Regions from separate parts of the Homo sapiens genome. Here all the other regions are linked to region 2. Evidence: promoter capture Hi-C in human tissues and cell types (Jung and others, 2019). All regions are on one chromosome and are shown on one strand. Each heading gives the region's core, a stretch centred on a gene start or on the middle of the fragment in contact. The rest is flanking DNA. Distances are from core to core; before and after follow the strand shown. Region 1 has its middle 11 kb from the start of LINC01892. Region 2 holds the start of TMEM200C (transmembrane protein 200C). Region 3 overlaps LINC01387 (long intergenic non-protein coding RNA 1387). Region 4 overlaps ARHGAP28 (Rho GTPase activating protein 28). Region 5 overlaps LINC01892 (long intergenic non-protein coding RNA 1892). Region 6 has its middle 33 kb from the start of L3MBTL4. Region 7 has its middle 7.6 kb from the start of LINC01387.

Region 1 (3,454 bases), core at 912-3,411, 830 kb after region 2:
ATGGCTTTATACTCTGCCTGTATTTTCTGAACCAAAAACATTGACACATATATGGGTTCTTTTAGGATAGGATATCTGAAAATGGAACAGCTCTTTAACCCCTGAGATATATGTTACAACTTCATTCTACACTCTTGCACTCAAGTTACTAAAGTGATAAATAAGAACAAAAAGTAAACTAGAAAAATCTCTGTATAACCCTGCAAATCTAAGACTTTCAAAGTCAGGGTAGCAGAGTAATGTTTCTAGAGCATCTCCTCTTTATGGCTTCCCATTCCCAGGCTGTTATGAACTTATTTTCCTCAAACAGCCTTTCATAGAAACAGAAATTCAGAATCTTGTGGAGTTCTCAAACCACCAGAGAAAGATTTAGACCTAAGTTAGAGCAATAAAATATAGTGAAACTTGTTGTGTCCCTTGGGTTCTTGGTTGAATGCAAGATAAGCCAAATATGGTCAATTTAAGCAGGTGAAAAATGTCTTCTTTACATCAACAAAAGGGATGGTGAAGCAGTTCTGAATGGGCAGGCACAAGGGGTCTGGATGGCAGGGGCCTGGAGTCGGGCCAGGGAATCTTTTACTGCCATCTCCAAAGCTGTGTGCGCTCCCAGCCCCACCCCAGTAGACTTTCAGAGATGCCGTGAATTCACACTTTTTATCACCCTCTCCAGAAGCAAGGCCTGGACGAAACCTGTGATTGGACTAGCCTAGCTCACATGCCACCCAATGGCAGGGAAGGAGAAAGTGGTCCTTCTTTGGCAGAGGAAGCCTCTTACCAAGACTCACACAAAGGGGGCTTTCCCTGAAATGTCCAGCAAATCCTGATAAAATCCCCTCCCCTTGTTAAAATAGATTCTAAGAAGTCACGATGTTTGATCATTTTGACAAGTGGTGAGTGAAAATCCACCACTATACCAGAGGAGGGATTGATAACATAGCAAGTGGAGTCTGTTGCTAAGTTACACAGTTGTCACTAATGAACACCAATTTTTTTTTGTTTTATTTTTATTTTAGAGACAGAGTCTTGCTCTGTCACCCAGACTGTAGTGCGTGGTGTGATCCTAGTTCACTGCAGCTTTGACCTCCTGAGGTAAAGTGATCCTCTTGCCTCAGCCTCTTGAGTAGCTGGGTCTGCCAATTTGCCCCACTACGCTGGGCTTATTTTTATTTTTGTAGAGGCAGAGTCTCGCTATGTTGCCCAGACTTGAACCCTAATTTTTATGTTCATGAAAATGAAGACTCTTAGCAGCTTATTTAGAATCAAAATTATTCTAATTGCACTCAACTCACTGTATTTGTCTGAATATATAAAACTTCAATATTTAAAAGTATTTACACACGAGATCTCTCTTTTGCTACTAATTTGTTGAATGATCATTGTGTGAAGGCTCTGTGCTGAGCACTTTACATGTATCATCTCATTTAGTCCTCATCACCTCTTCAGGAGCTAGTTTCTACCCTCATTCTCATCTTTAGAGGTGAAGAAATTGAAGCCTAGAGAACTATAGCTAGTAAGATTGAAGTTAGGGCTTGAACTCAGACTTGTCTGGTCCTAAATAAAGCCCATGTTATTAACTGAGCTATGGTATTTAATTCAGCTCAAATATTTTAATTATTTATGACAGCTCTTAAAAGCAAAGGTATAATTATCTATGGAAAAAATAGAGAGAGTGTTGATAAAAACGTTAGAGAACAAAAAAGCAGAATACTACTACTGCAAAGGAGCTGTGGGTGTTCTGAGTAGACAGAACTCATTCAAGTGCTTCCTTTGCTGGCATCTGGGGACAAGACAGTCTATCCCCCTGAATTTAATTTTTCTTATTTTAAGGTGGTGTTAATCACTACCCACTCACCAGAATGGTTAAATAGAAAATACCAAGTGGTAAGTGTAGAACAGCTTGAACCATCACACACAGCTGATGGTAGTGTAAGTTGGTATAGCCACTTTGGAAAACTGACAATATCCACTAAAGCCAGGTACATGCATAACGTATGACCCAACAGTCATGCTTTCAGGGTTTCTCTGTTTCTTGTTTATTTGTCTATTTGTTTTGTTTTGCTTTTATGTGACTGCGGAATATGTTGTGTTTAATCTGTGAAATTTTGCCAAGCTTTACCACTAGAATATAATATACGCACTTTTCTGTCAATAAAAAGTTTCAACAAATAGTAATACAAAAATGAACTTATAGTGTCCTTGCAAAAGTGAAACATATTAAAGTTCCTGGGGTAGAGCAGCCATTCAGTCAACACATTTCCCTTTGGTGAGCATTCTATGGCAGTAGTACGTGGGGAGAACCTGGAAGCTGGAGTCCACTGGAGTCATCCAGGTGAGAAATAAGATCCCAAGTGGCAGCAAGAGTGGAGTGGGAGAAACAGTGTCCCCAGAGCAGGAATGGCTGATAGAAGAGATCTAGGCTGGGGACTGATACAAGCAAGGGCCTGGGGGTGGGACCAGGCAATCGAGGCCACCTTGGTCATGTCAAAGAGGCTGATCAGGGAGGTCAAAAGGTCATAATGTGGCTCCTGGGAGTGAGAGTGGTGAAGGAGATTGGAGCATCAAGAGCCAGATCAGGCCGGTAGAGGCTGGGAACAGAGGATGGAGGAGGAAGCTACTAGCTCATGCCGAGCATGCTTGGTATGGAGCAGAAGCTGAAGTCTATACTGTTAAGAAACTACACCATCTTCTTGCCACTATCCTTCCTTTCCCTCCCATCTAAAATTTGGATAAAAAGCCTTCTTTCTACTAAATGTGCCTTAACATCACCTTTTTAATCCACATACAAAAGGCAAATGAAAACACAAGTTGGGGTGGAGAATTGGGCTTACTATTTATGCTCCATGTGAATGAAGGAGTCATTCAACTGCACAGAGGCTGAGTGTTCTCAGCCCGCAAATGCATGATTCAGATGTGACCGGCAGAGAACAGACGTCAGAATAAATGTGATAGTGGACTCAAGACTGCCTTGAAAGTCTACAGAACTGCATAAATATGGGATGAAATGATTCATGGTCAGTTGAAATCCAATGATGTAGAATTAAAAAAATGCTATTTCCCCATTGTCTTCTCCTCTTTCAAAAAGACACCAGATTGCTCTTGATTCATTGTGTTGCTTTATTCTGTCTCTCTTAAGTTCTGAATCCGTGTTTTGCAGAATTTCTTAAGGAGACTCAACCGTTCAGACTAGCTAAGGTGTCTGTTAGTTAACTGTTCACTGTTCTCTAAACTGAAATCTCTGTGAATTATTTTATTTGGATCTTGAAGTGCTGAGAGAGAGTTACCGCCCCTGATGCTGAAGTTAGTAGCTCCTTCAGCCTTGTTAGCATGAACAAGTCCAACCAGGCATGGCATGACAACCTGCTTTAAGCCTCCCCTGCATTTTGTGAGCTTATGCAAATGTAGCCCAGACAGGTACGATATAGAAAATCTAATCTAATCACCCAAGCTTGACATG
Region 2 (3,570 bases), core at 814-3,313:
TGGAAGGAAGCCTTTGAGTAATAAGCCATAAATTTTGTTGCAATCATCAACATAAGACAAAACTAGCTATGTCCCAAGGCCCTTTGTCTAGAAAAGAATTCTTTTCTTCTCCAAATCCCTCAAATGAGTTTTAAATGTGCAAATGATGGCTATAATTTACACAGAAACTTGAAACTATTAGCAGTTTAATCCACCTAAAATCCTAATGAAGTTCTGCAGTATTATTCCTGTTTGTACAGCCCAGCAAACAGAGCACAGGAACTGCCGCCCATAGACTCTGGCAGCTAGCTGTGCAATGAAATGAGACTGTAGGCCCAATCTTTGTAAAAAATACCAGATTATTATTGGGATTCAGGAGATCTGGAAGTTCAGAGCCAAAAAGGCTTTAGAAAACGACAACTAGATCTTATTATTTTTCCTTTGCAGTGATTTCTCTAAAAGGAAACAACCCAATGTGGGATTTAAAACTTTCCCTTCATTATGGTTTGTTTTCTAATAGCCTGAATCTGAGCATGAATAGGTAGGGGGAAGGCGGTGGGTTCCGGACACCCTGATCATCATTCAGATTCGTTATTTGCTTGAAAAGGGTGACAGAGGCCACCTTTCCAACAGGTGAATGCAGGGTTGCCTTTTAGAAAACACTTCTGCTTCGTTCCCTCCTGTCCCCCACCGTCTCTATCCCCATCTCTTAGATCACTGTTCACATTTATATCATTGAACTTGTAAATTGGTTGTCTTTATTGTTCTTTTTGAAAAGTGTCTGCTCTAGATTTAAGCACAAGTGAATGCTGTGTATGTGGGGAACAATCTTGTAACAGGAGCTGCGGGCAGCAGAGCCCTCCTGTGTGGGTTTTGTGGACCCCTAAGCAGCAAAACTCAGAATATATAACACCCACCACCACCAAAATATTTATCTGGATCCAAAATTTCAGACAGCACTTGCTTCATCTGCTCTTCTGTTCCTTTCTTCCTGAATCCTGGCTGCCTCATTTCAATAGATAAATGAAATCTTTCTCACTTTCTCAATACTCTTTGGGGAAATTCCACTTTGAAATTCTCTTTTCCCTGTCATTTTTACTTTACAGTTGAGAAGACAGGGATGAACTAGGAAACAGGATCTCGATCTCTTTCTCTCTCTCTCTCGCCTTCTCTCTTTTTTAAATGACGTAGGGAGTTTGGACATCCTCCCTACCCCCACCTCCCCTCTCTGATTCCAACCCTGATTCCTGATTCCTGGAGAATTATAGTTTTCCTTTTAATGCTTGCTGATTACCGCACCGGGGAGGAGCAGGAGGGGCTGCCCAAGGAAGAGCCCCGGAGCCCATTCTGATCTCCGAGGAGCCCCAGCTGCCGGGTCCCGGTCAGGCTGGTCACAAAGCCCGGCGGGGCTGGAGCGCGAGCGCATCTGGCAGAGGCTTCCAAGCGTCCCGCGGTGCGCCCGTCCCGGCGGGGGCGGCTCCACTCCGCCCGGGCCCGAGTTCGCTGGGGGACAACTTACTGTGCTTGCCGAGCGTCCACACTGCAAACTCCCAAGCGGGAGGGGGAAGAGAGCCCAGGCTGCGCCGTGCCGAGGAGTAGAGGCAACAAAAGACCGAGGCACGAGGGGAGGGAGGCAGGCACGGAGGGACCGCGGACTCTGGCCCCTAGCTCCCCGAGAGCGCCCCTCGGATGCTGCTGGGGAGACCCTCCGGGCCTCTCTTTGGGGCCTCTGGGGCCCGCGGCTCAGACAGGTAGTTGGAGGAAAGAAGAACAAAGCTGCCCGCGGAGGCAGGCGGCGGTCTCGGGGCGCCCCGGGGCGGGGAGAGCCGAGGCCGAGGAGGCACCCCGCGCCCCCTGCCCCGCGGCCCGAGCGCCCCGTGCCGGCTGCCTCCGCCGCCTCCCCTCACGCCTCCTCCTCCCCGAGGAATCGGCGCTTCCGAAGGGACGGGCGGCGGGCGGCGGAGGACGCGGGGGAGCGGGGAAGGCCGGCGGCGTGGGGGGGGGCGCCGGAGGAGGGGGTGGGGCGGGGGGCGGGGGCGGGGGCGCCCCCCGACTCCGCCGAGCCGGGCGGGCCCCGACCGCCACCCTGCCGCAATTTCCCTGTGTCATGGCTCCGGTCTCTTAGCAACAGCCGCCAGTCCGGCCGCCCCGAGCCGCCGCCGCGGGCTCAACTCCACCCGGCGGAGCCCGGCGCGCCGCAGCCACACAAAAGAGGCGCGAGGGCCGGCGGCGCGGCCGCAGGGGCCCGCCCGGGAGCGCCGCGCTAGGGGACGCCGGGAGCTGGAGGATGAGCGGCGGAGAGGAGGGCTCCGAGGCGGGATGCGGGATGCGGGATGCGGAGGACCTGACACTTCTTGGAAACTCTTGGAAATGGCTCCCGCCACAGCGCCGGCGGGGACTGCGAGCCTGGGGCGGGCGCTCGCCCCCGCGGGGCTGCTGAGTCGCGCTCGGATGCGGGGCCCCGGGGCGCTGTCCCTGCGCTCCGCCGTCGGCTCGGGCTGAAAAAGTTTCTCCATGGTTCCTTTGTGTCGCCCGAGCGCCCGTTCGCCGGCCCCGACCTCCCTCGGTCTCCCTGGGTAAGTGAGCGATCTTGCGTGCGGAGAGTGCTGCCATTTTGAGCAATTCTGCCAGTCCCCAGCCCTTGGGGGCCCCTCCCCGCCCCTCGGGTCCCCGAGTCCCCGCGCCCCGGGCTGGTGTTCGGTGAGAGGCTTTTTCCCGGGCTGGCTACACGGGATGCGCTGCCCAGAAAAAGCTAGTTCAGGATTGCCCTCACTTGGCTCCTGCCTGTCTTCTTTCCAGAGGCGGACTCCCAGCTGCTGCACTCATGTGACTCCAGCTAACATCAATAAGCAGACCAAAGCCAGGGGCCAGGGGGTCGCCGCCCTGCCAGTGAGGGGCCGGGGTCGAGGACCTGGGTTGGGTACCGGGCACAGCACAGCGCTCCCAGCCTGTGGGATCCGAGCCTCCGAGCCTCAGAGTGGGGCTTAATCCATCTTGAGCGGAGAACTTGAATGTCTCTCTTGGAAGCAGTTGTATTTTTAGACATCCCTCCTTTGCTTCCCCCATCCTCCATTCTTTAACCACGGTAAGACCAGCTCCAGGCAGTAAATTGCGAGGGCAGCCAAGCTTGACTGCTAAGTTTGTTTTCTTTCATTAGGTATAAAGGAAAACCTCAAAGGTGGGTCTCCCGTGGCATCTGACCTTTGTCTGTATTTCGTGTCAGATGATGATACATTAAAAGGGAGTACAGCCTTCAACAGAGCTGAAGGAATAATAAACGAGGGAGTTAATTACTAGCTATTAAACTCATTTTAAAGATGTGCGGTAAAGGACTGTTGAAATCCATTCCAACCTTCCTTACATTCTACCGGAGCCAAAGCTGCCTTGCTGAGGAGAAATCCAAGTGGGTTTCCTCCTCCCCCAAGGCATCCAGCCTCCCGGCGCACCTGATCAATGCCCAACAAAACATGTAGCCTTTCTGCGGTGGGAGAGCCACCCTGCCAACTGAGTCTGAGTTCGCTTCTAAAAAATGTCTGGTCCTTAAAGCCTTCTTAAGATAACCACGGATCTCCAGATTATTTAAGATGCTGG
Region 3 (3,297 bases), core at 506-3,005, 630 kb before region 2:
TTTAATAGAGACGGGGTTTACCATGTTGCCCAGACTGGTCTTGAACTCCTGAGCTCAAGTGATCCACCCACCTCAGCCTCCCATAGTGTTGGGATTACAGGCGTGAGCCACTGCACCCAGCCTAGAAAATAATTTTTAGTCTCATCAAATGTTCAGCAGTGTAGGTACTTCTAAAATGAATTTTAATTGCTAAAAGTGGAACCTATGTTAGATTTACATTAAGAGGTGAAAGGAAGGATAACTTCAGAATTTCACGTTGAATTTTTTCTTGTTTTATAGAATTCTAGAAACTAATATTACTAAAAATAAAAAGACCATTGGAAGGCTGGGTGCAGTGGTTCACACCTGTAATCCTACTGCTTTGGGAGGCCAAGGTGGGAGGATTGCTTAAGGCCAGGAATTTGAGACCAGCCTGGGCAACATAGTAAGACCCCATCTCTAAAAAAATACATAAATAAAAACAATTACTTGGGCATGGTGGCAAGGACCTGTAGTCCTAGCTAATCTGGAGGCTGAGGCAGGAGGTTCTCTTGAGCCCAGGAGTTCAAGGTTACAGTGAGCAATGATCATGCCACTACTCCAGCTTTGGTGACAGAACCAGATCCTGTCTCAAAAAAAAAGAAAAAAAGTATTGCAACATAGAGTCCTTTAGAAGCTAAGGACAGTTAGTCTTCAAGATACTCATCTCACATTCAATGACACCCATAGGCTCAATGTAAAGGAATGGAGAAAGATCTATGAAGCAACAGAAAACAAAAAAGAGCAGGGCTGCTATTCTTACTTCAGACAAAACAGACTTTAAATCAACAACATTCAATAAGAACAAATAAGGACATTACATACTGATAAAGGGTTCGGTTCCACAGGGAGACTTAACTATCCTAAATATATATGCACTTAACACTGGAGTACTTAGATTCACAAAACAAGCTCTTAGAGACCTATGAAAAGACTTCTATAACCACACAATAATAATGGGAGACTTCAACACCCCACTGACAGTGTTAGACAGATCACTGAGGCAGAAAACTAGCAAAGATATTTGACCTAAACTCGACACTTGACCTAAACTCAACACTTGACCAAACCGACCTAATATACATCTACAGAGTATTCCACCCAACAACATAATATACATTTTTCTTATCTGCACATGGCATATACTCTAAGATTGGCCTCATGCTCAGCCATAAAGTTATTCTCAACAAATTCAAAAAAACCAAAATTGTACCAACCACACTCTCAGACCATAGCACAATAAAAATAGAAATCAGCACCAAGAAGATCTCTAAAAACTATACAATTTCATGGAAATTAAGCAACCTGTCCCTGAATGACTTCTGGATAAATAATAAAATTGAGGCAGAAATAAAAAAATTATTTGAAGTAAATGAAAGAAAAAAAAAACACTACAGCATACCAGAATCTCTGGGACACAGCTAAATCAGCATTAGAGGACAGTTTATATTGCTAAATGCCTACATCAAGAAGTTAAAGATCTCAAATTAACAACCTAACATCACATCTAGAGAAGCTAAAAAATACAAGACCAAACCAACCCCAAAGTTAGCAGAAGAAAAGAAATAACCAAAATCAGAGCTGAACTGAATGCAAATGAGACATAAAAATTCATACAAAAGATCAATGAAACCAAAGATTTTTTTTTAGAATAAATAAGATTGATAGACTGCTATCTTGATTAATAGAGGAAAAAGAGAAGATCCAAATGGACTGAATCAGAAACGACAAAGGTGACATTATCACCGACCCCACAGAAGTACAAAAAATGCTCAGAGACTATTATGAACACTTCTATGCACCTCTATGCACAAACTAGAAAACCTACAAGAAATTGATAAATTCCTGGAAACATAAAACCTCTCAAGATTGAACCAGGAATAAGTTGAAATCCTGAACAGACCAATACTGAGCTCTGAAATGGAATCAGTAATAAAAAGCCTCCCAACCAGAAAGGGCCCTGGACCAGATGGATTTACAGCCAAATTCTACCAGATATATAAAAAGGAGCTAGTACCAATCCTACTAAAATTATTCCAAAAAAGCAAGGAGGAAGGACTTTTCCCTAACTCATTCTATGAGGCCAGCATCATTCTGATACCAAAACCTGGCAGAGACATAATGAATAAAGAAAACTTCAGGCCAATATCTCTGATGAACAAAGATGCCAAAATCCTCTCCTGAATGCAGCAGCACATTAAAAAGCTAATCCACCATGATCAAGTAGGTTTTATTCCTGAGATGCAATGTTGATTCAACATATGCAAATCAATAACTTAATAAATGGAAAAGGCTTTTGATTAAAATTCAACATCTCTTCATGTTAAAAGCCCTAGTTCAAAACCCTAGTTTATTAAAAAACAAGCTAGGCATTGAAGGAATACACCTCAAAATAATAAAAGCCATCTATGACAAACCAATAGCCAACATCATACTGAATGGGCAAAAGCTGGAAGTGTTCCCCCTGAGAACTGGAACAAGACAAAGTTGCCCACTCTCACCACTCCTATTCAACACAGTACTAGAAGTCCTAGCCAGAGCAATCAGGCAAGAGAAAGAAATAAAAGGCATCTAAATAGGAAGAGAGTAGGTCAAATTATCTCCCCTCACAGAGGATATGATTCTATACCAAAGATGACTAGGGATAGCAGGTTCAAGAAATGGACATAAGTGTCTGTGTGTGTTGGGGGGACTATTGCTAATTAACCTAGACTAGTGGGTCTTAATCTTGACTACAAATAAGAATCAGTTGGGAAGCTTTACAAAATATGTGGGCCCCACCCGGAAAGATCCTGATTCCATCATTCTGGAGTGGGCACCTGTCAGGGGTATTTGTAAAAGCTTCCAGGCAATTTTCACTCACAGCCAGGTCTAAGACTCACTGATCCAGATTGATGGTGTGGGAAGGTCTCCAGGCCTCGCTTTGAGGAAGGAATACTACAAATACAGGGTAATGACAACAGCCCTGCCATTATTAAGGAGTCATGAGCTGTTTTAGTGTTTTTATGGTTTATTCGCTCCTCACAACAATCATACTAGGTAGATACTGTCTTTATTTTACATATGAGAAAAGTGAGAACCAGGAATTGCAATAACTTGTTCAAAGTCACACTGCTAAAAGCAGTCAAGGCAGGTTTGAATAAAGCTTCACCTTCATCTGAAGGCTGTTCCTTCTCCATTACATTTCCTTGTATGCCCACTATTGCTGGTATTGAGTAAAAGATGTAAAATTTTAATTTGGGGATCACTGCTGACCCTATGAAATGTGTGGAGTTGCCT
Region 4 (3,617 bases), core at 337-2,836, 850 kb before region 2:
CTTTCTCACATCAGCCAGAAACATCCAAGCCACAGAAGTTGCCCATCATGGCAATGCTGCCCAGAAGTGTCCTGATTCAAGGAGACAACACAGATGGCAGCCTCCAACACAGCAGTCACTCGAGCCAGGCCCTATTTTAGCCATGTGCTATTTTTATACTGAACTTGCCCTATACTTGTTCAAAGCTAATCTCTATGTACCAGAGAAACACTCTTAATACTGTGAGAGCTCTCTCCAGGTATACAATATAGTCATGGTATCTATAAATGTAAAGATACCCTGGATGTAAAAGTTTCCCGGAATAGGTATTGATGCAGTAACTGGTTCGTTGAACCGAATATTTGTTGATTTAGGTTGAATCTTGTTTGGGAATGTGGAGATTTCTATTCTAGGGGTGGTGTCATTCCAGGAAGGCAGAAAATCTCTAACTGGATCTCCTTCACCACTTTCACAGCAAACGGTGCATTCCACAGCACCTGTGGCCATGAGCTTGAATGCAGATGACCAGGTTTGAGATGGCCTCCACAATATGCTCTGTTATTAGTAATATTTTTGCATTCACATAATTACTAAAATGCCTAAGGCAAGCCAGTGTTTCATTAGTGTCGAGTTAAAGCCTTCCCCCTCTGCTTACCCCATGTGCCTTTGGTGCACAACACTGGATACCCAGCTGGATCATCCAACCACAAGCCAAGGTAAACACAGAAAGTGTGAGTCACTGGGGGTAAGAGCTATGTATGTCTCTACTAAATGTGAAGTCCGAATACTGGCACTCTGGCTGAACCACTATGATTCCAGCATATGTTTATGATTAGTAGCTATTAAATCAGCTACTTCCAATGTGTAAAGTAGTTTCTACCAGTTATTTGGGTATTTTTTCTGTGGGGAAGCATGAACTCTTCAAGAGCACTAAAAGAATTTTTTGCTTGAGTCTGATTCTTTCAAAATCAATGCTTTAATATTTAATTCAATATTTTAATTACTTCAATAGACTATATGGCATCTATAGAGTTGAAGACACCCTCCCAAAGTGAGGCACTTTTATTAACTTATTTTAACTGCTTTGGCTGAAACAACTGACATCTCTTTGACAACTGGTCTGTTGAGCCAATCCCATCCCACAAATTAAACCCTGCCAAACATATCTACAAAAACTATCACTACTTCCCTTGCCAATCTCTAAATACATCCAACCTGAATTATTGACTGAATTATTGACTCCCTCTCCCTACCGTCTACCTTCATCTATAGACCAATATACACACATCACACCATATCCACATGTCCAACTCAAGTATCATGTCCTCCATGAAGCAAACCCTGTTTCCTCTTTAGAGGATACAGTACTAAACAAGAAATGGTTCCCAGTTCTCCTGGGCTCCAATATAAGCTCCTCAAGCACAGGAACTCTGTCTTGATTAGCTTTGCTCTTTCATGGTGGCTTCAAGAGAAGATATTTGATTAATGTTTGCTAAAAAAAAAAAAAAAAGAAAATAAATGGATGAATGAACTGAATATCAGAGAATCTAGAGGTCTCTATTTTCTCAGTTAAAATTATTTATTATTCATTCATCATACATATATAATTTTAAAACAGACTTAGACAAAGTGTTCAATATACAGTGCTGTTTTTTGTTTCATTAATCAATCTACTTGCCAAATGTATAACTCTCATCCTTTCTTGGCTGACCCCTGGTTAAGTTTTCAGAACACTACCACATGAATTCCTATATCCGTTTCTCTCTCTTTCTCTTTCTCTTTTATTCCTTTAAAACACATGAGCTAAGACAGTTTCTCCAAATGTCAACATGACACTATATTTGAAGTAATGTGACTCATATCCATCAGAATCTGTTAAAGACTGAATTGTCTGGACTCTTCACTGATTCCTTGTGACCTTGAAAAGTTACTACTCTGAGACTCAGTGTTTTCACTTAAAAATGAGAGATTGTAACAGGTGCAACCCCAGGTTCCTTTCAGCTTTCTGTATTCTGGAAAACTAATTCTCTGTATTTTGCTAGGATAGGCTTGCTACACAAGCCTCATGAGTAGGCGGAGTAGAAAGCTGTCTAAAACAGGAGTCAGATACTATTATGGCCCACAGGCCAAATCCAGGCTACTACCTGTTTCTCTAAATAAAGTTTTATCAGAACACAATCAACCCTATTGGTTCATGTAATGTTTATGGTTGCTTTCTCGATAACAACAGTAGAGTTCCCACAGAGAAAATACAACCAGCAAAGCCTAAAATATTGACCCTTCGCAGAAAAACTGTGCCAACCCCTGGTCTAAATTATGTGCACTGAGGTGTGTGACTTCCTGCCTAAAGAACATTCCGTTCTCTGAATGAGACCTGGAGTCTCACTATTAGAGGTTTAAAGAAATGTATATATGCTTTGGGAAGGTAAAACACCTTAAATGCTGAGAAGACTGTTCCTTGGTAGAACAAAATGATCCCTTCGTGGATCACTACAGGGAAAATAGAAGGGCTCCAGGAAGCCAAAGTAAATTGATCAGGCGCAAAAATAAACTTGCTTACATCCCAATCTTGGCTGGGTCTACAATGGAGAAATGAGTCTCCAGATGCAGTGTCCTGGGAGTAGAATCTTGAGTTCGGTTTTCTCACAGTGTGATAGGTTTTACTCTAAACCTGCTTCCTTGCCCAGCCCCTCTTAACCCAACAGCCAACAGCTGCCAGACAGCTGGATGACAATTGGGTACAATAATAGGATAAAACCACTAAATGGTCTGTACACATTATTGGCACTTTCAGGCTTCTATGAAATGATGTGTGTGAACCTCAGAAACCATTATGATGAGCGAAGGAGCCAGACACAAATCATACATGCTGTGATGGCTTCCACGAACAGGCAATGCTAATCTGTGGTGACAGAAGTCAGAAACGGGTTGCCTGGAAGGAGTAATTGAAGGAACAAAGTGCATGAAGAAAATGTCTGGGGCGAGGGAGATGTTATATATCTTGTTTTGGATGGTAGTTACATGGGTCAAAAATCATGGAACTGAATATTTAACAGTGCACTTTACTGTAGAGGAAGTATACCTCGATTTTTAAACTGACATCACTAAATAAAGCATTTATTTTTATTTGTTTGTGGGTATGGCTTCAGAAATCCTGGAGGTCTTTAGATTCATGACCATTATATAATTTTCCCTCCATGGTAATGGATAAGAAGATGAAGTGAAGATAGAAAGGTGAAGAAGAGAGAAAAAAAGGTGAAGAAATGTTCCTTGGTGGAAGGAAATTCCTGTCAAGCCTCTAAGCCCATTTTCTTCCCAGGCACATTCTTGCAATATGTCATCAGATATCAGTTTTAGGGCCTAGCATGTCAGAGGACACTCAAAAGCAGAAAATGAGGAAAAAAAGTGAAATAGATTTTTCCTCTTAAAATGTATGTGTGTGTGTTTTATTGAATTATTAAAAACACAAGGAAAATATTCAACAATATGCTCCCATGTTTCTTGGAACTCTCCACTTTAATTTAAATTCTATTAAATTTTTCTAATTTTGTGCCAAAAAGAGTATAAAGTATTTTAATTAAATGAAATATAAACATAGTTAAATTAAATATAATTAAATTAAGTATAAATGAAATTAT
Region 5 (3,318 bases), core at 195-2,694, 800 kb after region 2:
AAAGCATAAGTGTGTTCTGCTTGGTGAAATTTGTGCTTAATTAGTCACAAAAGTCAGGCTGAGTCACCATTTAAAAAAAAAAAGACTCTTCTTTTGGAGCCCTGTGTGGTTGTTTGTGTTTAAGCTTGTGACGATTTTAAAATTGTTTAAACTTTAAGGCAAGGAACTAATTCTCAAGAGTTGAATTTCTGCTTGCACAAAAAGATAATTTTTACTTGGGTACTCTTGTATTAATATTATTACTTTGCAATACTGAAAATTTCATTATAGGCTGATCTGTGAGCTACTAGGCTGGGTATAGCTGCTGTGGATATTAATGTTTTGAATAGTGATAAGCACATGGGAATTATATGATATATAAAACAGTTCTGATGCTTACAATCTACTGTAGCAGCTACTTACCTCCAAGTGACTTTGGTTTATGAACACTACGTTATTGGTTTGTAAAACACCACAGGCAAGCTCATGTGGGACTCTATATCACTTCAGGGATTTCTGAGAGTCCCCAGATGATGTCCATATCCTCACCAACAAGACAGGTGAATCACCCCAGATGACTCCTGCTAGCAACCTGCTATGTGCACCAGGCATCGCTGCTTCTGTTGGGCATCGTAGCTGCCATTGAGTCTATTTCAGTAGCTCTTTAGGAGCATCCAGCCAAATTCTGAATCTAGATTGATAAGAATTAAAATGTAGGATCTGTTTTTGTAGATACCAGGTTTTAAAAGAACTACCCAGTGCTGAATTCTAGACCTTGGACTTCCTCATTTCTTCCTCATTTTGGGCAGCAACACATCTCCGTTCTATTGCAAAATATACCCTTAGAGCTTGGCCACAGGAGGAGTGAATGAGGCCTTACATTCTGTAAAGAAAACCCCCTGTTGATGCTCCTAATTCTGCCCTGCCCAGGTTAATTCTGTGAAGGCTTTTTTTCTTAATCTTTTAGTTTTATGAAATTATACCATTTTAAAGCCCTTCTAGTCATTTTTCTTTTTATTGAATTAATCTCTTTATCAATCAAGTTTGTCCAGAGGAAACACAGGACCAACATGACAGAAAGAGAGATTTGTTTTAAGCAATTTGCTAATGTGATTCTCCAAAGTCTGTAGAGCAGGCTAGAAAGTCAGGCAGGATTTATTTAATTTATTTAACTTATTTAGTTTTAGATGGAAACTTCCTATGTTGCCCAGGCTGATCTCGAGTTTCTGGCATCAAGCGATCCAAACACCTTGGCCTCCCAAGTGCTGAGACTGCAGCCATGAGCCACCACACCTGGCCCTCAGGCAGAATTCCATGTTACAGTCTTGAGGTAGAATTCTTTCTTCTCCAGGAAACCTTGGTCTCTGCTCTTAAGGCCTTTAGCTGATTAGATGAGGCCCAACCACATTATTAAGGATAAACTCCTTTACTTAAATTCGATTGATTATAGATGTTAATCATATCTACAAGATGCCTCCACAGCAACATCTAGACTGCTATTTGACCGAACAACTGAGCACCATGCCCTAGCCAAGTTGACACATGAAATTGGTCAACACAATGTCCTGCTGGTATCTCTTTCCTCAGCAGGTTGCCTACCATAAAGTTCTCTCAAGTATAAGTTTATTTATTTCAGTCAGATATTATCCTTATTGTTTTGCCAAGCAATACCCAGGCTGTCATAAAATTAGCAGTCTCAAGTGCACGTTTTAATTAACTCCTTTCATATAAATTGTGGTCTTCCATGGAAAGAAGAAATGCTAGAACATATTAGTGAAGAAGTAATTTTTTCTTCAGAAGTATACATAAAAAGGATGGACTTAAATTTGGAGGCAATCTATAGACATCTCAACTGGTTCATCTTACACAATGCTGACTAAAAAATTAAAGTTGGGCAAAGTTTCCTCTTGATGGGTGCCAAAACTGTGTAGCCCAGATCAGCTGGGAAACAAGGGCAGAGGTTTCAATGGAAATTTTAAACAAATGGATCAACATCCTGAAGGATTTATTTGAAAAGTTGTAATAGATGATGGAACACAGCTTTACTAGTACAATCCTGAAGACAAAACACAATCAAAATAATGGCTACCAAGAGGTGAAAGTGGTCTTAGTCAAAACGAAAGTGGACCAGTCAAAAGCAAAGGTCATGGTAACATTATTTGGGGATGATGAAGGCATTTTGCTTGTTCACTTTCTGGAGGACCAAAGAGTGATAACATCTTATTACGAGAGTGTTTTGAGAAAGTCAGCCAAAGCTTTAGCTGAAAAACCCCCAGGAAAGTTTCACCAGACAGTCTTTCTCCACCACCACAATGTTCCTGCTCATTCCTCCCATCAAACAAGGGCACTTTTGTGAGAGTTTCAGTGAAAAAATCATTAGGCATCCACTTTACAGTCCTAATTTGCTTCCTTATGAATTCTTTTTGTTTTCTAATCTTAAAAAAAATTTAAAGGGCATCCATTTTTCTTAGGTTAATAATGTAAAAAAACAAAACACTGCATTGACAAGGTTAAATTCCCAGGGCCCTCAATTCTTTCACGGATGGACTACATGGTTGGTATCATTGCTTACAAAAACATCTTGGCATTGATGAAACTTACATTGAAAAAGTTTATGTATTGTATTTCTATCTTTTAATTTTATTTTTCTGTGAATTTTTTGAAGTCCTTTTGTTTATCCCACACCTCCCGTCCTCAGTATATTCCTGAAATGAGATTATGGATTTATAGGATATTAGGAAAGAAAGATTCACCCAACAAGATGTCATTAGTGGTGGCACCCAAAATGTGGACAGGTGCTATGACAGATGGGCCCAGGCAGCAGGGATGGAACCTCTAGGGTCCACAGTGAAGCACTGAGGGACTGCACCTCTTGCCAACATCTCATTTTCAAAATCGTCTTCTCTCCTTGAATAAGCACACAGCTCTTTTAAGAAAATAAAATATAATGAACAAAGAGAGGTAAAATACTTTTACCTAAGCCATTCTTATACCTCCAGGTTTTCATTTAGACTATGACCCAAGGAGATACAGATCTCAGTAAAATATTTTTAAATAAAATTAACTATACCCCTAGGATAGGATTTAAAATAAATTCTTCTTTGATAGCACACCAAAGTTCATTCAGTTTGGAACCTGGAATCTGGGAAGTCCACATTCATTCTACATTTTACTTTTTCTTGCCCCCTTAACTTTTTGTTCATTCTCTTGTCCTGTTTCCTATACATGCCTCTCGTTTCATTCCAGATACAAGTCCCTTTGAGGATAGGATTGAAATGTATTTGTTTCATTCAAAACAGTTTATAGGTTGTTGTTGTTTTTCTTTTTCCTTTTTTTTTT
Region 6 (3,196 bases), core at 627-3,126, 550 kb before region 2:
ACACATGGGCCCTGTCCCGTAGTGATGGAGTGGGCTGGATGGTAACCTGCCTCTGCAGCCAGGCTGCCTCAGTGACCCACAGGTGTAGTGTTCACTTACATTGCTTCATTCTTCTAATCTTTCTACTACTCCATGTTTTCCCAGTTTTTCACTTAGGCCTCAAGGATTTTCATGGTTTTTTTTTTTTTTTTTCGAGACAGGGTCTTGCTCTGTTGTCTAGGCTGTAGTGCACTGGCACAATCAGAGCTCACCACAGCCTTGAACTCCTAGGCTCGAGTGATCCTCCTGCCTCAGCCTACCTAGCAGCTGGGACCCTAGGTACATGCCACTGTGCCCAGCTAAGCCACAACAATGTTTAAGATTGTGTATCCAGGAATACTGTCTATTATTATATCTGTCTACTATTTATTATTAATAATAATAACTTGTTTTAATGACAATTTTTTAAAAATTGGCTATGCCAATATACATGAACACTATTCATTTTAGTATATTTACCTTGTATGTAATTATTTCCTTGAATTTTTAGAATTCTCATAATTTTTCAGTTGATTGTTTTACTACTTCTGGGCTTAAAATTATGCCATCTACAAGAAACAATAATTTTATTATTTTCTTTACATATGCACCTAATGTGTGTTTCATGCTTTCTTGTAATTGTCAAAAACTACCTAAAATATTAAATAACTATCATGGTATTGGGCTCCTTTATTTTATTCTGGATTTTCATGAGATCATTTCCAGTGGTTTGCCATACAATTTTTTTCATTATCTATATAGATGATTATTTTTAAAGTTTCATTTATTGATATGATGTACCAAGATGTAGGCATCTCCTAAAGCTGAACAACTGTCCTTGATACAATGTTTGGTCATGAAGGGAACAGATGATAGTTACAGTGTTGGGCTGCATTCACTGCTATCATGAAGGATGTTCTTCACATCTATAGTAATGCTATAGTTTTCTTTGGGAAGCAGGAATTTGAACAGCATATTAAATAAGTAGGATTTTTTTTTATAGGACCACAAACTAGTCAATATAAGACAGAAACAGCACAAGTAAAGGACATATCCATTGTGTTGAAGCAAGAACCATCTGATTCAGGGTGGCCCCCTGAGAGGGGCGGGAGAAGGGCAAGCCATGGGCTCTTCCCCAGGGGCCGCACGGGGCTGTCAGATTGCAGGCATATGACCCTTCCACACTCTGCTGAAGCAGAACATAGAAGTATGGCAGAGCAGAACGGAGCAAATCCCGCTCTCTTGCTGGCAGAGCCAGAGTACTGGAGCTACTCCACAATCAGTTCGGGGTTTTTGATAAAAGATCATTCTTCACTTTTCAGTTTCTGCTGCCTCTGGCGCTCACTGGCATAATTAATTATTGTCTGGCATAGACAAACAATAATCAGCTTGGGAATGTTTAACTTTGGAGGGCTGTGCTCTGAGCACATGGAAATATATGTCACCTATACAAGATGTCATCCCCTGTAGGCCCTGCAGACAGACGCTGGGCTTTGAGTTACTTTTTTTCTAACAACAATTGTAGAGTTTCATAGAATTGCTTAGAAAATGTGCCCTGAGGAGAGCAGGAGGAAAGCTTTCTCCAAGGAAGTCTCTCCAGGGAGACACTTAGTTTGTTCTATGGTCATTTAATAGTCTTTAAAAAGTTGCTTGCTCACAGAAAGATGGTGAGAAGGTAAATTGGATTAATCCATCTAATGAATATTTATGGAACAGGAACCAGGCACCATACCAGACTTGGAGAACAAAGTCTGGACGTAGTTAATAAGGCAGGTGGGAATTTAAGGTCTCCACTCATCTTGTGCCCTTCCCCTACTTACCTTCTCTTTCTTCCCTACTGCAGGCTGCCTGTGACTCACCGTACTTTAAGTTTCTTCTGAGTACACTGAGCCTGATATGTAATAGTAGTAATAATGATAACAACAGTAGCAGCAATAACAACAGAACCAATAACAAACATTTATTGAACCTATACTTTGTCCTGGCCATTGTTCTAAATGCTCCACATGGATGAACTCACAGACCCTCCCAGCCACCCACAGGGGACACTGCTACGATTATTACACAATATTAAGTTCACAGGGATGGGAAGTATCAGACCAGGATTCCAACTTGACCTCAGTTTTTCTAGCAAATAGTTCCTGAGCCTAGCTCCCAGCAATGTGCTGTGGGTACCTGTGAGGATGTTTCAGGAAGGAATGCAAAGCAAGGGTTAATTTAGTGAGACAAAGTTCTGTTTTCACTCTAGTCTCTACTTTTTTTTAAAAAAGTTTAATTTCCATAAATCTATGGGGTCCAAGGGCAATATTGTTAATATGCATTGATTGTGTAGTGGTCAAACCAGGGCTTTTTAGGCATCTATCACAAGACTAACATACATTTTACCCATTAAGTAATTTCTCCTCATAGTCCCAACTCCTACCCTGGTCTCTACATTTAGAAAGTAACATACAAAATTTGGCTGAAACTACAGAAAACAATAACAGTCCCAAATTACAAACTAATGAAAAACAGGGTTTGTGAAAAATAATATTATTAAGAGTTTGGATTGTTTGATTCATGGAAAAGCAGGCACAGGGATGATCCAAGTGTTCAAGTACACAAAGAACTCTCTTACAGGGTTCTGACAAGTGACTAGCCATTGCTACAGAAGGCATAGTAGAAGGCTGAGACATCTTTAAATAGAAGCAGTAGCTAAGATATAAGGTAGTGCTTACTGACAGTTATGGGAGAACCACTGGAAAACCTGCAAAGGGACATGGGGAATTCATGAGATTTAGAGAAGAGGGCATATATTCCAGATGGTTAATGTGTCATTCTGTCAAAGATTTGGACAAATGAGTAGTTCACAGTGTTTTCTGTGCAGCCTTAGCAGTTAATTTATTCTCTCTCTCCCTCTTTCTCTCTCTACCCCTCCCCCTCTCTCTCTCTGTCTCTCTCTCTCTCTCTCTAAGTTCTTACCATTTGCCAGTTTCTGTGCATGCTGCCCATTGTGGGTCCAGCCTTCACAGATTTTATAGTCTTAATGTGGCATACAGAGAAAAAAATTATTTCCTAATGCATAGAAAACTGCCTGGCTAGATATTTTGATAACACCCCCACCCACCCCAGATGTCCCCTACTTTCCTTTTACTAGGCCAAACATAGCTCACCCCTGCTCATTATCTCAGGAAAGGCT
Region 7 (3,417 bases), core at 841-3,340, 610 kb before region 2:
TCTGCTCTTTTAAATCTGTTCTCTTTATTTATTAAAGTGTTTGGGTTACAGATTAGCTTTCTAACTTTATTGATGTCTTGTCTGCCTTGAAACCAAAACTGTACTTAGAAACAGTGAATGACTTATTTTATTGCATATTTAAGTGCCTTTAAAAATCATTATGTTTGTGATTTTGATTACTGCCTTGGGGGAAAACATTTACCAGCCAAGGAGAGGAGTCAAGAGACAGATCCTAACACTCAGGAAGAAGTGAAGTCTCATCGCAGGAAAATATTAGACAAAAATGTAATCTCATCCCTTGGAAAAACAATTCATGTTTTAAGGGCTCAGTGCTCTGAAAATTTATGTTACAGATAATTAATAATGAAAGTTGAAGTTTCCACAGTTTTTTTAAACCATGACAGTTTATTAGCATACTTTTTGAAAAAACTCCTTGAAAGCAAAAAATGGTGGCTCTACCTAGAGCCCGATGGAGCCTTTGTCCTTTCCTGGGACCAGCTGACTCACCCAGCATCTGAGTCACTCAAACCCTCCCCACACCTCTCAACCCCCACCCTGCCCTGCCCTTGGAAGCAGAAAAGGTCAGTCACTTCAAGAGGTGGCTGGAGCGTCCTCCCTTTACGGGGAAGTCACCTGTGACAGAGCTGGGACTTGAAGCAGCTCTGCAGTTCTCCAGGCCTGCCCAGCAGAGGTGTCGCTTGCTTACCTGCTTGTCTTCCTTCCTCCCTTCCTTCCTTCCTTCCTTCCCTCCTTCCTCCCTTTCCTCCTTCCTTCTATCCCTCACTCTCTCTCCTTCCTTCCTTCCTGTTTCTCTCCTTCCTTCTTTCCTTCCTTCTGAACCAGCCTTGTTGTCTGGGGTGACACCTGAGGTTCTTGGCCTCATAGCCATGGAGATCAAGGACATGGACACATACAAAGAGTGAGGTTTAGAGCAGAATTTTAGTAGGTGAAAGAAAGAGAATAGCTCTTTGTTACAGAGAGGGGTCCCAGAAGAAATGGTTTGCTGATGTGCAGTGAAATGCAAGGGTTTTTATAGATAAGCTATTTGGGAGAGGTGGTATCTGATCTACACAGGGTGTAAAAAACCAGTTAGGACCAGGTGTGTCATATGTATAGGGTGTGAATTTCTGGCAGCCTCCACCCCAATCTTTTATTATGTAGGTGGGTAGTTACCCCATGTTGCTAAAAAAGAGGGGAGGTGGAGCGCCCGTGGTGGACATGCCTGGCCCCAGGTAGCCCCTTCTGTCTGTGCCACTGCCAGCATCCCCTTGTGCAAGCTTCCAGCTTCCTTATCTATGTTTGCAGCTCAATATTTCAAGGAGCTCTTTGTTAGAAAAGAAGTGATTTCAAGGGCTGCTTTTTGTTAGAAGGGAAGTTCTGCTGGGGACTCTTTTGTCCTCACTATCTGTCCAAATAATTTCTTTCTCTCTCCTGTATCACTTCCTTCCTTCCCTTCCCGCCCTCCGTCTCTTCCTTTCCTCCTCCCTTTTTCCCTCCTTTCCTTCCTTCCTTCCTTCCTTCCTTCCTTCCTTCCTTCCTTCCTTCCTTCCTTCCTCCCTCCCTCCTCCCTCCCTTCCTCCTCCCTCCTTTCTCTCTGCCTCTCTCCTCCTCTCTTACTTCCCTCCTTTCCTTTCTTTATCCTCTCTCTCTCCCCTTTTTCTTCCTTCCTTTCAAATTCTCTTCAAATTTTTCTTCAATTTTATAAAACCTATTTTAATTACATAATTAATATAAAAAAACTCCCTGTAGAAAAGTAAAAAATAAAACTCTATCCAAATGTTCCTTGAGCTCTGTCCACATTGCTAGTCTGTCTCCTTAGATGCAGTTACCATTTTCAGTGTGTGGAGAGCCTTTTACACTTTCTGCTATGCAATGACATATTTACAGATGTATGTGGTTTTGTCTGTGTGAACATGTTTACTTAACGAGTGTTATGGTGTGTGCAGTATTCTGCAATTTGCTTTTTAAAAATATTTTAACATTTTATTAAATCTCAAGTAGATATAAATTAGTCTAATGTATGTAAGGTATATAGAATAACACTACAATGGACACCTATGTATCCAAAACCCAGTTTAAGAAATAGAATATTCCTTTTGATTTGGAAGCTCTCTAGTTCCTTTAATCCGATCCGCTTCCCTCCTCTTTGATATGAATTTTGTGTTAATCATTTCTTTACCTTTCTTTATAGTTTTTCCTTATGCATTTCATTCCTGAAGAATGTGTTATGTAATTTTTCACATTTTTTGCACTTTATGCAAATGGGATGAAATGTAGTTATGTATGTGTGTGTTTCTCATGGTTCTGCAGGCTGTACAGGAAGCATAGCAGCTTCTGCTTCTGGGGAGGCCTCAGGAAACTTAATCATGGCAGAAGGTAAAGGGGAAGCAGGCACATCTTACATGGCCAGAATAGGAGGAAGAGAGAGAGGTGCCACATACTTTTAAACAACCAGATCTTGTGAGAACTCACTCACCATCATGGAAACAGCACCAAAGTGACAGTGCTAAAACATTCATGAAGGAACGACTCCCATGATCTAATCACTGCCCACAAGGCCCCACCTCCAACACTGGGGATTACAATTGAACATGAGATTTGGGTGGGGACAAAGATCCAAACTATATCAGTGTGTGTTGCATGTGTAGCTGTAGTTTATTCATTTTCCCTGCTCTATGATAGCCCATTGTATGATTAGACCACTACTGAAGCATACATTCTATTATTGTCTATAATTTAGATTCCTTCCAATTTTTTGCTATACATCTTCTTGTACAAATCCCTTAATGTATGTTTGCAAAGTTTATCTAGAACATATATGTAGGTCCTGCCTAGTCAATGAGTGTGCACATTTTCATCTTAACAGATTTGCTTAACAAAAAGGCAAACTATGAAATATGTAAAGAGGTTTATTCTGAGCCAATATTGAGTGATCATGGCCCAGGGAACAGTCTCAAGAAGTCCTGAGAAAGTGTGCCTGAGGCAATCAAGTTACAACTTGGTTTTATACATTTTTAAGGAGGGAGAAGTTATAGGCAAAGACATAAATCAAACATGTAACGTATATATTGGTTCAGCCCAGAAAGAGAGGACATCTCATGGGAAGTGGGGTTTATAGTCACAGGTCGCAGGTAGACTCAAAGATTTTCTGATTGGCAGTCGGTTGAAAGAGTTAAGCTAAAGGCCTGAAGTCAGAAGAACAAGCAAATGCTTGAGTCAAGATAAGGGGGATTATGGAAGTCATGGTTTTTGTTATGCAGATAAAGCCTCCAGGTAGTAAGCTCCAGAGAAATAGATGGTAAATGTCCCATTTTGGACCTTAAAAGGTGTCAGACTCTTAATTAATCTCTTCCAGATCCAGGAAAGGACTGGTTGCATTACTGGAGATTCTTTACAGATGCAAATTTACCCTACAAA

Evidence for each region. Contacts are between HindIII fragments. The study calls those that stand out against the background at their distance.
Region 1: a contact is called between a fragment that was not itself captured here and the fragment with the promoter of TMEM200C in region 2, in 1 of the 25 tissues and cell types used here (H1 embryonic stem cells).
Region 3: a contact is called between a fragment that was not itself captured here and the fragment with the promoter of TMEM200C in region 2, in 3 of the 25 tissues and cell types used here (dorsolateral prefrontal cortex, lymphoblastoid cells and stomach).
Region 4: a contact is called between a fragment that was not itself captured here and the fragment with the promoter of TMEM200C in region 2, in 4 of the 25 tissues and cell types used here (H1 embryonic stem cells, bladder, dorsolateral prefrontal cortex and 1 more).
Region 5: a fragment that was not itself captured here is called in contact with the fragment with the promoter of TMEM200C in region 2 in 1 of the 25 tissues and cell types used here (dorsolateral prefrontal cortex).
Region 6: a fragment that was not itself captured here is called in contact with the fragment with the promoter of TMEM200C in region 2 in 2 of the 25 tissues and cell types used here (dorsolateral prefrontal cortex and lymphoblastoid cells).
Region 7: a contact is called between a fragment that was not itself captured here and the fragment with the promoter of TMEM200C in region 2, in 1 of the 25 tissues and cell types used here (lymphoblastoid cells).

What each region holds. Positions count from the first base shown.
Region 1 is chr18:5,068,519-5,071,972 of GRCh38, reverse strand. No RefSeq gene overlaps it. Among named protein-coding and RNA genes, the nearest start is that of LINC01892, 11 kb to the left of the region's middle. The HindIII fragment of the contact is 3,103 bases long and covers 610-3,454 here.
Region 2 is chr18:5,894,015-5,897,584 of GRCh38, reverse strand. TMEM200C (transmembrane protein 200C) reads left to right here and starts at 2,063. Exons shown (of 2, transcript NM_001395400.1): 1 at 2,063-2,555. All of the region lies in intron 9 of MIR3976HG (MIR3976 host gene), which reads right to left. It overlaps LOC121725015 (a long non-coding RNA gene), which reads right to left and starts at 1,858. Exons shown (of 3, transcript NR_172505.1): 1 at 1,499-1,858. The HindIII fragment of the contact is 12,914 bases long and covers 1-3,570 here.
Region 3 is chr18:6,527,911-6,531,207 of GRCh38, reverse strand. All of the region lies in intron 2 of LINC01387 (long intergenic non-protein coding RNA 1387), which reads right to left. Among named protein-coding and RNA genes, the nearest start is that of LINC01387, 18 kb to the right of the region's middle. The HindIII fragment of the contact is 4,806 bases long and covers 1-3,297 here.
Region 4 is chr18:6,744,944-6,748,560 of GRCh38, reverse strand. All of the region lies in intron 1 of ARHGAP28 (Rho GTPase activating protein 28), which reads right to left. Among named protein-coding and RNA genes, the nearest start is that of ARHGAP28-AS1, 17 kb to the right of the region's middle. The HindIII fragment of the contact is 7,565 bases long and covers 1-3,617 here.
Region 5 is chr18:5,092,898-5,096,215 of GRCh38, reverse strand. LINC01892 (long intergenic non-protein coding RNA 1892) reads right to left here. Exons shown (of 4, transcript NR_146900.1): 3 at 403-670. Among named protein-coding and RNA genes, the nearest start is that of LINC01892, 13 kb to the right of the region's middle. The HindIII fragment of the contact is 3,921 bases long and covers 1-3,318 here.
Region 6 is chr18:6,446,126-6,449,321 of GRCh38, reverse strand. No RefSeq gene overlaps it. Among named protein-coding and RNA genes, the nearest start is that of L3MBTL4, 33 kb to the right of the region's middle. The HindIII fragment of the contact is 3,941 bases long and covers 1-3,196 here.
Region 7 is chr18:6,502,139-6,505,555 of GRCh38, reverse strand. No RefSeq gene overlaps it. Among named protein-coding and RNA genes, the nearest start is that of LINC01387, 7.6 kb to the left of the region's middle. The HindIII fragment of the contact is 7,445 bases long and covers 1-3,417 here.